Linked DNA regions of Homo sapiens: region 1 is linked to region 2. The links are contacts of gene promoters, found by promoter capture Hi-C in blood cells and fetal thymus (Javierre and others, 2016). All regions are on one chromosome and are shown on one strand. The core of a region is centred on a gene start or on the middle of the fragment in contact, and the rest is flanking DNA. Distances in the headings are between cores, read along the strand shown.

What was found. The method cuts DNA at HindIII sites, captures the fragments that hold promoters and counts their contacts. A CHiCAGO score of 5 or more calls a contact.
Region 1: the fragment with the promoter of PIK3R3 here is called in contact with the fragment with the promoter of NASP in region 2 in 2 of 17 cell types (fetal thymus and erythroblasts); the score reaches 7.1 in fetal thymus.

What each region holds. Positions count from the first base shown.
Region 1 is chr1:46,130,524-46,137,078 of GRCh38, forward strand. It overlaps PIK3R3 (phosphoinositide-3-kinase regulatory subunit 3), which reads right to left and starts at 2,106. Exons shown (of 10, transcript NM_003629.4): 1 at 1,324-2,106. The coding sequence starts at 1,429. All of the region lies in intron 1 of P3R3URF-PIK3R3 (P3R3URF-PIK3R3 readthrough), which reads right to left. It overlaps LOC101929626 (a long non-coding RNA gene), which reads left to right and starts at 2,848. Exons shown (of 3, transcript NR_125987.1): 1 at 2,848-2,867; 2 at 4,008-4,131. RefSeq lists enhancers at 1,369-1,418, 2,659-2,888. The HindIII fragment of the contact is 2,525 bases long and covers 902-3,426 here.
Region 2 is chr1:45,580,484-45,586,563 of GRCh38, forward strand. It overlaps NASP (nuclear autoantigenic sperm protein), which reads left to right and starts at 3,558. Exons shown (of 15, transcript NM_002482.4): 1 at 3,558-3,722. The coding sequence starts at 3,664. RefSeq lists enhancers at 2,174-2,223, 2,634-2,693, 3,144-3,453 and silencers at 2,984-3,043, 3,954-4,253. The HindIII fragment of the contact is 9,802 bases long and covers 1-3,740 here.

The sequences.
Region 1 (6,555 bases), core at 856-3,355, 550 kb after region 2:
TACTAGTTTTTAGTACAGCACCATTTAACACTGACTAATTGAAAAAAAAAACAGGATAATTCACCGTTTGCAAGGACACAGGAAACAATTTCTACATACCTTCTATAAGACAGTTACACTTCTTCACACTTGCATGGCTCAAATCCTTTCAAACGTTTCCAAAAATACAGTCTTATAATAAACGAGGTTCCCCAATGACACACATTTTATTCTGTAGACTTAGCCATAACACGTTTTAAAATACATAAAGAATTCATCCTCGACAGAAACAAGGAGTCACAAAGGCTCTCTACTTATTCAGAATCATTACATAAAACACCATCTGTAACTGCAAACAGGGTTTGAGAAAATCTGACAGCTAATAATCATAAAATGGGGTAGACTTTAAAGGAAAAAAAAGCCAACTTTTCCATTTTGCTTTCCTTTTCCTTTCCTACCAGATACACAAAATGTCTGTAATAGCGTCAGACAGAGCTTTAAAATAAAAATATAGTGCTATATATGTATACTTTACATTACGTGTATAGGAACACATATGTATATATCACACGTTCACAGGAAACAGAAAGGTTCCCTCGTTTTTGTTTTTGCTTTTTCTTTATTCTAGGAATTGAAGTTACATTAAACCCTATCCCATAAATTAAGTTAAATCATCATTAAATTAAAGAGTAATAAAATATTGCACGTAGATTTCTCTGAGCGACTATCTTCTGAGAAGGAAAACCTCAGACTAAGACCATGGCTGAATACGAACGCCCAATCCCTAAAAAAAATCACTAACCGGCATTTGTTTCTGCAAGAGAAAAAGGGAGTCTTACAATGAATAATCACATAACTCAGTTTCAGAAGTTAACCGGGGTAAAACACAACGAACCAAATTAGACAAATGTATGAAAGGACAAGCTTTCAAGAATTCGCCCAAAGTGAAAGACTGGTTTTAACCCCGGGATATAAAACATCCTTTGCAGGTAGAAGAGTCTTTAATTGAAAAAGAAAAAAATAAAATAAAGTGGCGGGCACAAGAAAAACCTGAACGACACGCAAAGGCAAAGTAAAAAATAATGATAATTTTAAAAAGGGGTCTCTCCTCCCACCCCCACTTCCAGCCCCCACCCCCACCTTCGCAGGACAATAGGATCAGGGTCCTAACTGCAAACTTTAAACGTGTAAACCAGAAGCAGTTTTACCGCAGCTGTAACTGCAAATCTCCTCATCCCGAACCTAGCGCACCCAGGAATACTTCTGCCCTGAAAACATCAGCAAGCTCTTGGTAAATACAAATCAGACCCATCACGAGATTCTTTTTTTTTTTCTCCCAAGTACCTGGAGGATCCATTTCAATATAAAATATCAGTTCTGTCGAATAGGGCATCATCACCTCCCTCCAGTCTGCGTCATCGCGGTCCATACTCCACACCGTATTGTACATCGCGCTGTCAGGGGCAGGTCGCCAGGAGATATATAGAAGGCATATATTTTTTATCTGGTATTTAAAAATCTAAAAATATATATCTGCAAAAGTTCCACACGGAAATGTACTTCGGGTTTTCCAACGGCCAGTACCAGTCCGGCCAAACTACCCGAACAGGGTCCTCCCCCTCTCTCCTACAGAACACAACAAAATGCCCCCGAACTTTCAAGCTATGGGCTTTTCTCCTCAGAGGATTACACAGAGGCTTGGGGGACGGAGAGCAGAGGTGTTAAAAAGCGGCTTCCCAAAAATCCTTTCTACACAGTCGCTCTCCGGGGAGAAAAGCTCCCACCGCCTCCAAATCTTTCCGCGGAAGCCACTTTTGTGTCCTTCGAAGGAGGGAGAATGAAGAGGAAAAAAAAGAACACGTTGGGAGAAACCCGGGCAAGTGACAAAGGAAGGCAAAAAAGGGGGCTGGAGATTGCGTTCAAGTTTCGGGGTCCCACTGGTCTGCAGAGAGCGAATCCCCCAGAGGCCGGGACTCGGGCTCCTCTCCGGTCGGTCTCGGAACCGAAGCTGCCGCAGCCTCGGGAATGGGGCCGGCCGGAGAAGTCCAGTCAGCTCGGCTTGTCTGGGCGCTCCCGCCGGGGTGTAAGAACCAACCCGACCGCACCAACTGCCCTCAAGCTCTGCCCGGACTCCAGCCACTAGAGTTTCATTTTAACGGCGCGGAGGGGACACCCTCCCCGCCCCATGCTGCCCACCCGCTGAGGCGCCACCCAACCGCGCCGGGAGGGGGGACAGCAGGCATCACCACCGCCCCTTCCACGCCGTCCCGCCTCGATGTACCGGGATTCTGTCAAGTGCCTGAGAACATGTTCAAAAAGCTGCTCTCCATCTCGACTTTCACGTCTCCCCACCGCTCTCTAGGCTTCGGCTCCCCAATCAGCCATCCGCGCTCTCCCCCAGCCTCAATCAGAATGGTACGATCCGGGCGCTGGCCGCACTCCAGGAGTCAGTGCCGGGAGCACGCGAGCCAGGCGAGGAGGGAGTGGGGCGAGGGAAGAGAGGCAAGGTGGGTGGTGATTGGCTGAGGCCGGTTGCCGGAGCCTGGAGCCTGCGTCTTTTGTCTGCCTTGCTCCTGCGAAGGAGCGGGAGACGGCTGCGCGCCCCAAGCGGGCCAATCAGGAGACAGCCGGCGCCGGCCGGTAAGGCGGCGATTGGTCAGAGCCCAGTTACTAAGCGGGACAAAGGCAGAAGGGGAAAAGAAAAGAGGAGGAAAAAAAAGAAAGAAAGAAAGGAAGAAAACGCAAACGGCGGTTACTGACAGGCTGGGCGAGCGCTCGGGGGCTCAAACTGCCTGGAGACAGGCGGGGCTCCTGCTGAGGCTTGGTCCGCCCGGACGAGTAAGGAGAGGAGCCAGGGAGGACCTGCTGGCGTGAGACGCCTCTGCCCGGTGATTGGCCGCGGGGGAAGGGAGCGGACACAGAGGGGGCACGTTCTGTCACTTGGCGGGGTGCGCGCTCTTCTGGTCCTTAGGAGGTCTCTGGGGAGACTCCTTTCCTACAGACCTCTTCACCTTGCTGGGACAGCCCTCTCCGCACCCTTGACAAGTTGTCAAAGCAATGGTCCCCAAACCCACTTGCCACCTTACCACTCAGGGAGAGGATGTGCCCGTGGCCCCTGCAACCTTCCTGGCTGCTACCTGACCCCACTCCCTGCTTCTCCCCTTGAGCAATTGGACATTTCTGAGGGAGGCATTTCGCAGTTCCTCTGTGCTTCCCACCCAAAGACTTTTGAACCCAGAGGTAACTCCCCACGCCTAAAATAGTGAGAGGTCTCAGCAAGCCCTCCTGCTCGAGTGCTCAAACCAATTAAAAAAAAAAAAAGTCTTGGAATTACAGTGCATGTGTAATTTCTAAGATAAGTCACAGGTGTTGGAATCTCTCACCAAAAGGGCTCTATTCTGTTTCCCTGACAGACCCTCTTCCTCACATACTCATTCCCACCCCCAAAGCTTAAATCTGGGAGATTGGCTTCACTATGAAAATGCTGAATATTTCCATGCATTTCAGAAACAGCTAATTAACTTGCTGGGGAACACTGAATAGCTAAAAGCAGATTTGTGTCTCCTGAAGATTGTGCCTGGAATTGCCATCCTGTATACCCTACAATACAGTCTGAGGAGGCCAAAAACTGCTCCATTTCCTCTTTACACAGGAGTAACAAAGCCCATTGTGTTTGAGTTGACAGCCTGATTTAAGCCCTAGCAAAACCTCCTACCTTGAGCATGTCTGCTATATTGATTCGCCTATGGAAGAGTTGCCACGTTTCACCCTCTACCTCCTAAGGTGGTTCTGCCTTCCTTAAAGATGCCCTGAGTTGAGACAGTTCCTGAGGGCAGACAGTCAAAATGTATATGGACTGGGTATAGAGTAACTGGTTTAAAAGGGCCAGAAAGTATGGATGGACATGGTTGAGCTAAGAAAAGACACCAGGATTCTTATATGCTTTCTTATTATTTCTGAAATCCAAATATGATTTCAACTTTGGGGCAGGACTCATTAATTATAATTTCCTGAACCATTCCTTACAGGTAGAAGATACTGGAAGATCAACTCTAATTTGTGGCTGCCTTCCCAGCAGTCTCTACTTCAGCATATCTGGGAGCCAGAAGCACTCAAGTTTGATAACTCAAAAGACAGAACAATCAGTCAAGGGTGGGTTGGTTTATTTTTGTTCACGGGTGTTCATGTGCATTCCCAAACAAAATGAGGGTGAAGAGAGAGGAAGTGTGGAAAAGATAATGGCTTTCAGATTTCCACAGCACCTTTTGCCTGGACCACTTTTCAGCATTTAGTGGTGGGGTTTCAGTTTCTAATACACAGAGCAATCACCCAGGCTTTTCCCACAGCTAAGGCTTTGAGAGATGAAGTGACGTCCAAGCACAGTATATAATCAAGTGGTCAAGGCTGACACATGGAGTAAAGCTGTGATTCAGTCTTTCCACCTAAAATTGTATGACCCAACTCTCCAACTTAAATAGACCTTTGAATATATCTCCAGAGAATAAGTGATGCAAGAGGCAATGATGAATCAAGGGGAAGCAAACTTTCTTAGTCCTTGAGCTTAAACCAGTGCCCTGCCATGGGGGAAAGCACCTGTGAGATGATTCTGGTCTTTCTTTCAGTTGAGAAATAGAAGTGAGGTTGTGATTGCTTGTCACCAAACTGCCCCAGGCTCTTTGGCAAAGGTAAAAAATGTTAGCTCGGGTGTCCTGGACCACTTCCAAGTTGGAGAATTATATTTGACCTGGGTGTGGATTAAATTCAGCTCTAAGCACTCAAGCTCCTGGGTCACAACCTGCTACTTTGGGAGCTGCTTGTTTTCCTTTGCCCTCTCCCTTTCTTTTTTTAATTTAAAGTAGTCTTAGGTAAATCATGAAATCTGCTTTCATTTATATATCTATGAAATAGATTTATGCAAGCTGCTTAGTTTATAGTGAAACACTTAGAATGAAAAAATATGCCACTTAAGTATTTAGGATTAATAGTACTTTTCTGTAACTCCAAATGGCTAGGATGCCCTTCACTTTTCACCCTGGTATGGTTTTTTTCTGCAACTGTTCAAATATGCTTCATTTCTTCCTCTTTATTTCAGAGATGGATGAAATATTTCTTCTGTGCTCTGAATATAGGGTATGATCTCAGAGCTCTCTGTGCCAGCAGAATCAGTCTGGAACTCAGCCAGAAGTTCTTCGTGATTAAAGGTGCCATCTGAGCGCACAATATTTTTTTAAAAGCCTTGCAAAATGGGGCCGGGCACGGTGGCTCATGCCTGTAATCCCAGCACTTTGGGAGGCTGAGGTGGGCAGATCACGAGGTCGGGAGTTTGAGACCAGCCTGGCCCACGTGGTGAAACTCCGTCTATACTAAAAATAAAAAAATTAGCTGGGCATGTTGGCAAGCGCTTGTAATCCCAGCTACTCGGGAGGCTGAGGCAGGAGAATCATTTGAATGCAGGAGGCAGAGGTTGCAGTGAGCCGACATCACGCCATTGCACTCCAGCCTGGACAACAGGGCGAGACTCAGTCTCAAAAAAAAAAAAAAAAAAAGCCTTGCAAAATGGAAATATACTTTTTTTTTTTTTTTTTGATCACTAGCATTAGCACCAGAACTGACTTTAGACTTTGGGTAGGGATTCTACCAGCCTCAATACCTTCTTTTTCTTCTCTCACCATTTTCCCTTGACCACTTGTCTTGTGATAAGGCCCAGTCCATGCAATTAAATAAACTCATTTAACAAATATGACTCCCAGAAAGCCCTACAAATTATCAGTTGCAGATTTTTAGGGCCTCCCCAGACACTTGACTTGTAAGTAGAAGATATATCAAGTTTTGATGGAAAAGTTTGCCTTCACAATGTACAAAGAACCATGTTAGTGGATCTTCTGGAAAGACATCTCACCTGAAAATCAATAGTCATCTCTTGAGACAGCAGTGTCTAAAATCGTGATTTTCCATTTTTTCCAAATGGTATTCCTTGTATTTGGCATTTGCAATTTTTTACCTTTCCTCATCTTTCTTAGCACTTGAATACCCATGATAGAGTTAATCATTTAACCCAAGGCACTGAGAAATTATGACATTATATGAATGAGTAGACTTCATTAAAGTGGCATTCCCCTAGATGCTGCTGAATTCCAGGGCTTAGGGGACAATGTTTGAGGCCTCACTTATACACCTCAGCATGTGATGTAGATCTGCTCTGCCTCACTCTTCCCACTTTGGGTCCTCATTTAGGTTTAGGGGTAACAAAAGAAGCAAATCTCTCTAGCTTGACATCTTCCTCACTTTTGATGTCTGCCCTTGTAGTAACACAGGGGCCAACTGGATAATATGTATGCCATTGCTGCAAACTTCCCCTCCAACAAGGCAACAGATTTCAGCTCAGCTCTCACCAGGGGAGAGAGCACAAATTAGATCCAAATGGCAGGAACAATAGTCCAGGCTGTTTCAGGAGGACAGGGCACAAACAGGGCAGGCAGCTGGTGAAGCTCTGTTACCTCATTTAATCTCCATAACCCTGGGGTGGAAGGCTGTATTTTTATTCTCATTTTACAGATGAGGAAATTGAGACCCAGA
Region 2 (6,080 bases), core at 2,308-4,807:
AAACTACAAAAATTAGCTGTGCACGGTGGTGCTCGCCTGTAATGCTAGCTACTCAGGAGGCTGAGGCAGGATAATCACTTGAACCCAGGAGGTGGAGATTGCAGTGAGCTGAGATCATGACAGCACACTCCAGCCTGGGCGACAGAGTGAGACTCTGTCTCAAAAAAAATTTAAAAAGTACATGGATTTAAAATATACTTATTTTTTAAAATTTTTATTTTTTGTTTTTTTGAGATGGAATCTCACTCTGTTGCCCAGGCTGGAGTGCAGTGGTGCAATCTCGACTCACTGCAACCTCCGCCTCCTAGGTTCAAGCGATTCTCCTGCCTTAGCCTCCTGAGTAGCTAGGATTATAGGCGCCCACCACCATGCCCGGCTAATTTTTGTACTTTTAGTAGAGACGGGGTTTCACCATGTTGGCCAGGCTGGTCTCAAACTCCTGACCTCAGGTGATCTGCCTGCCTCGGCCTCTCAAAGTGCTGGGATTACAGGCGTGAGCCACCCTGCCTGGCCTTATTTTTATTTATTTATTATTTATTTATTTTTGAGACAGAGTCTCACTCTGTCACCCAGGCTGGAGTACAGTGGTGCGATCTCAGCTCACTGCAACCTCCACCTCCTGGGTTTAAGTGATTCTCCTGCCTCAGCCTCCTGAGTAGCTGGGACTACAGGCCCCCACCACCATGTCCGGCTAATTTTTGAATTTTTAGTAGAGATGGGTTTTTACCATGTTGGCTAGGATGGTCTTGATCTCCTGACCGTGTGATGCACCCGCCTTGGCCTCCCAAAGTGTTGGGATTACAGGCGTGAGCCACTGTGCCCAGCTATTCATTTTATTTTATTTATTTATTTTTTGAGATGAAGTCTCGCTCTGTTGCCAGGCTGGAGTGCAGTTGCACGATGTCGGCTCACTGCAAACTGCCTCCCAGGTTCAAGCGATTCTCCTGCCTCAGCCTCCCGAAGTAGCTGAGATTTCAGGCGCCTGCCACCACGCCTGCCTAATTTTTGTATTTTTAGTAGAGATGGGGTTTCACCAGGGGATCCAGGCTGGTCTCAAACTCCTGACCTCAGGTGATCTGCCCGCCTCGGCCTCCCAAAGTGCTGGGATTACAGGAGTGAGCCACCGCGCCCGGCCTGCATCCAGCTATTTATTTTTTTTTGAGATGGAGACTCACCATCGCCCAGGCTGGAGTGTAGTAGTGCAATCTCAGCTCACTGCAACCTCCAACTCCTGGGTTCAAGTGGGTCTCTTGCCTCAGCCTCCCAAGTAGCTGGGATTACAGGAGCCTGCCACCACTCCCGGCTAATTTTTGTATTTTTAGTAGAGATGGTGTTTCACTATGTTCGCTAAGCTGGTCTCGAACTCCTGACTTCAAGTGATCCGCCTGCCTCAGCCTCCCAAAGTGCTGGGATAACAGGCACCTGCTACCACGCCCAGCCTAAAATATATTTTAAAATATATTTCTCTGAGTTCCTCAAGGTAGAGTCCATGTCTTTTGTCCCCAGAACCTAGTACAAAGTCTTGTACCTCAAAGTTGCTCAGTGAATATTAATTTAATGGATGAATCGGTCACACCAGTAATTGCAGAGGTTTTCTCAGGCCCTAGCCCTGGCTGCAAGGACTTTGGAGAGATCTCCCCTCCCAACACCCTCCATTTACCACATCATCAGACTGTGGTAGCCATTCAATGAGTGCTTAGCGTGAATTCTACACAGTGCTAATTACCTGTAATTCTCACAATGTCCTTAAGCGGTGGCTACTAATATGTCTTCATTTTACACTTAACCTTAATCCCAGCTACTCGATTACAATCCGGGTTACGTGACCTGGCTCACGTCACCTAGCTAATAATGGAAGAGCCCATGTATGTTTGCCATAGGAATTGGCATTTTCACGTCCAGCTCTCTAGCCCCAAAGATTTCAACCTCTTCGAGCCTTGACAGATTGGAATAAGAATCCTCTCCAGGAATCTTTCCCAATATGCTGGAACCTAAAGGGAAATAAAAACCCCTACTCCGATCAGCGTAGACTGGGCCATGGTGAAAAGGAATGGATGATACTCCAGGTGTGAGGAATTGCAGCTTTTTAGCCTGCCAGTTATTTTTCACTCAGCCATTTGCAGGAAATGAGGCACACTGCTTTCCATAACTGATTTGTCTTGCAACTTTCTGAACAAGTCACAGCTTCCCCTTTTTTTTTTTTTTGAGACGGAGTCTCGCTCTGTTGCCCAGGCTGCAGTGCAGTGGCGAGATCTCGGCTCACTGCAACCTTTGCCTCCCGGGTTCAAGTGATTCTCCTGCCTTAGCCTCCCGAGTAGCTGGGATTACAGGAGCCTGCCACCACACCTGGCTAATTTTCGTATTTTTAGTAGAGACGGGGTTTCACCATGTTGGCCAGGTTGGAACCTTGGCCTATTTATTTATTTATTTTTGAGACGGAGTTTCGCTCTGTTGCCCAGGCTGGAGTGCAGTGGCGAGCTCTCGGCTCACTGCAACCTCTGCCTTCCGGGTTCTAGTATTCTCCTACCTCAGCCTCCCGAGTAGCTGGGATTACAGGCGCCCGCCACCACGCCCGGCTAATTTTTGTATTTTTTAGTAGAGACGGGGGGGTCTCACCATCTTGGCCAGGCTGGTCTTGAACTCCTGACCTCGTGATCCACCAGCCTAGGCCTCCCAAAGTGCTGGGATTACAGGCGTGAGCCACCGCGTCCGGCCCCTTGGTTTATTTTTCTAAGAAACAGACTAACACTGATCTCACTAGTAGCATTGTTAATATTAAACAAGATAGCTAATAGCTTTAAAGCGTCTAATCACGGTACCCCCACGAGTAGTAGTCACACAGCAAATCATAGGCAGGAGTGGACAAACAGCGCTGGGAGCATTAATTCTGGTAGATTTGGAGTCTGGGCAGGGCCTAAGAGGATGGGATCAGCGGATTGGGCCAGCCAAAGGGGGCGGGTTCAGAGGGAGGAGCCAGCTGCCTCCCGCTGCAAGCCCCGAGCTTTGAATCAAGCGCGGTAGTTTCAGCTGTAGCCAATCCTAGAACAAAATCTTTTTGCGTCAGTTGTTGCTGAGGCCTAGATCTCACCCAGATCAGTTCTAGTCGCTGCTGCTTGTACCCGTCCTCGGCCCTTGCGTGTCCGTCCGTTACGACTCAGAGGACGGAGAGAAAGTCTAAGTCACCTTCCTCAGTATCCAGGCCGGAAGGAGACTCTCAGCTACTCGCCCTGAACATGCAGAGCAGCACTGGCTTCCCTGTCTCTGGATGCCGCAGGGGCGTCCTGTCAGGAGTTGTAGTGTCAAGATTCCAGTTCTTCTTATGCGACTTGCTGGAGAAGCAGGAAGTTGCTGTTTATTGGAGAAGTCGGGCTAGGGAGGGAAACAATCCCGCGGAGCCATATGGAGAGGGCAGGAGGTGTCTAGATAGTGGTAGGCCGGCGGGGGACGGAGGGTATGGGTGGTGAGTCCTGGCCCTTTAAACCCGAGGGGGAGGATCCGGAAGTGGATGGGCGGGGCGAAGGGTCCTCGTATATAAAAGGGCCCCGGCCGCGCGGGGTCTCTAATCTGCCATTTTCTGTCCCTGAGTGAGTCTCTGGCGTCCCAAATTGCCTGTTTTTCTCGCAGGCTCTATTCCGTTCGCTGGTTCGCCACCTCAGGGGAACGATGGCCATGGAGTCCACAGCCACTGCCGCCGTCGCCGCGGAGCTGGTTTCTGCCGACAAGTAAGCGGGACTGTGGAAAGCTTAAGGCACTGGCCAGTCCGCGGGGAGGGCTAATGGACGGGGGCTCCGGAGAAGGGGCAGACCGGTGGGCGGGAGTACTTGCCTTCCCAAGAGCAGCTGTCGCTGTTCGGGAAGGCCTGGTCACTGGAGCAGTCCTTCTTTTGCTGAGAGCCTCGCGCAGCAGCGGTAACGGCGGTCGGCTGGCGCCCCCTGCCCCGCTTTTCGCGGCCGCCATCTTGCCGGGGGCAGCGGCGGCTGTATCCTTCGCCTGCCCCTCTCCTTCCTCCCCCAGCCCGGGGCGGTTGGCCGGGAGGCGGGGCCCTGGCGCGCGGGTTGGCCTTCACGCCCCTTCTGTCCCCAGCGTGTGCCTCTGGTAGAACCCCTGGATAACCCGGGAATATAACCAACGAAGATTTGGCGCCAAAAGGGAAAAAAAACCTTGCACGAGGAAGGAGGCTGGACCTGAGGGGTCGGGGTGGGCGGGGCCTTGCTGAGGGCGGGGTTTTGCGCGCGTGCGTTCGCTTCCCTCGCCGGCCCTGGGGCAGGGGGCGGGGCCTTGAGGAGGCGGGAAAACTCCATTGTTTGGGGCCGCTGCGGCTCCAGCAGGAGCTTTGGACTATCTCCGTGGGGCCGGCGAGGCTAGTTCCCCCCGACACCTCGCTCACGTCTTGTGCTGGGAGATAGTTATCGCTCCCCGCGACTCCGTGAGCCCCTGCCTGTGGTGGGGAGGATTGTCGTTCTTTAGACTTTGGAGGTGGTGTCTGTTTGGGGGGAACATTACCGGACGTAAAGCGTCTTCAGGAAGCGCTGTCTGGAGCTCTCACCAGCACTGTTTGGTTGCTAGGTGAATCGGCAGTAGTATGCACGAAGTGGAGAAGGACTGGAGGGAAACAAGATAGGATTGTTTTGAAAGCGGCACAGTGCCACTCAGGCGTAATCTGTTTTTTGAACAGTGGAGGGAAACACTACACGAGTTCAAGGAAACAAGTGCTGTTTCCCATACAGTAGGTCTGATTTCCCAATCTTGCCATATTTTTTTAGGCATCTGGTTCTATTTTTTTTTCTAATCTTGTGCGCTTTAGAGGTTAGTTGCCTTCCCTGTAAAAGGAATGGTTGCTGTGAAGTTTTTTAAATTGATATTCTATAGGCTTACACTCTGTCATGATTATGTCTTTGTTTGTTTATAGTTAGAGATTTACGTATATCTCTGCTTACCACCTTTTCTCTCTGCGTTCTTGTAGAGCAGTGGTTCTCAAGTCACCCTGAGAATCATTTGGGAACTCATGGGAAATACAATTTTAATTTCAAACTCCCATTACCTGCCTCTTTCCCCATTGATTCGATATAAGCAGTATAGATTGGGCTTGGGAGTCGTGCTATAGCTATTATAAAAAGAGCTGCTTTTTATAATGTTTCCTAGACAGCTCTAGCAGTCAGTATTTCACTGACAGCTGTGTGTTTTTGTTTTGTTTTTGCAGACAGGGTCTGGATCTCACATCCAGACTGGAGTGTAGTGTTGTGATCATAGCTCACTGCAACCTCGAACTCCTGGGCACAACTGATCTTCCCTAGTAGCTTGGGACTACAGGTGTGCCACTACACCTGGCCAATTTTTTGTAGATACAAGGTCTTAATGTTGCCCAGGTTGGTCTCAGACTCTTGGACTCAAGCAGTCCTCCCGCCTTGGCCTCCCAAAGTGTTGAGGTTACAGGCGTGAGGCACGGCGCAGGGCCAGGTGTTTTTGTTTTTGTTTTTTGAGGTAGAAGTATGCAACAAATACCTCTTGCAGGTCCCCTGTGTCTAGCCAGAGTTAGGTCATTAGTGAATTTAGTTTCCTGGCAGGTTATACATAGAGAAAGTTTATGTATATGTGGCTAGAAGAAAGCAAACCATTTAGTTCCTCACAGCATAAATTGAAAGCTAAAACTGAGCAATTATATGTGCTGGGTGTGTGGGGGTGGGGGGGCAGGGTCTCTGTCACCCAGGTTGGAGTGCAGTGATGCCATCTCGGCCCCCTGCAGCCCCTACCGTGCCGTGTGTGTGTGTGTGTGTGTGTGTGTGTGTGTGTGTGTGTGTGTGGTGTGTGTGTGTGTGTGTGTGTGTGGTGTGTGTGTGTGTCACCCAGGCTGGAGTGCAGTGATGCCATCTCGGCCCACAGCAGCCCCTACCTCCTGGCCTCAAGTGATTGTCCGGCCTCAGCCTCCCGAGTAGCTGGGACTGCAGGCGCACACCACAAGGCCCAGCTGATTCTAGTATTTATTTTGTAAAGACGAGTTTTTGCCATGTTGCCCAGGCTGGTCTCCCAACGCCTAGGCTCAAGGGATCCACCCACGTGGGCCTCTCAAAGTGCTGAGATTA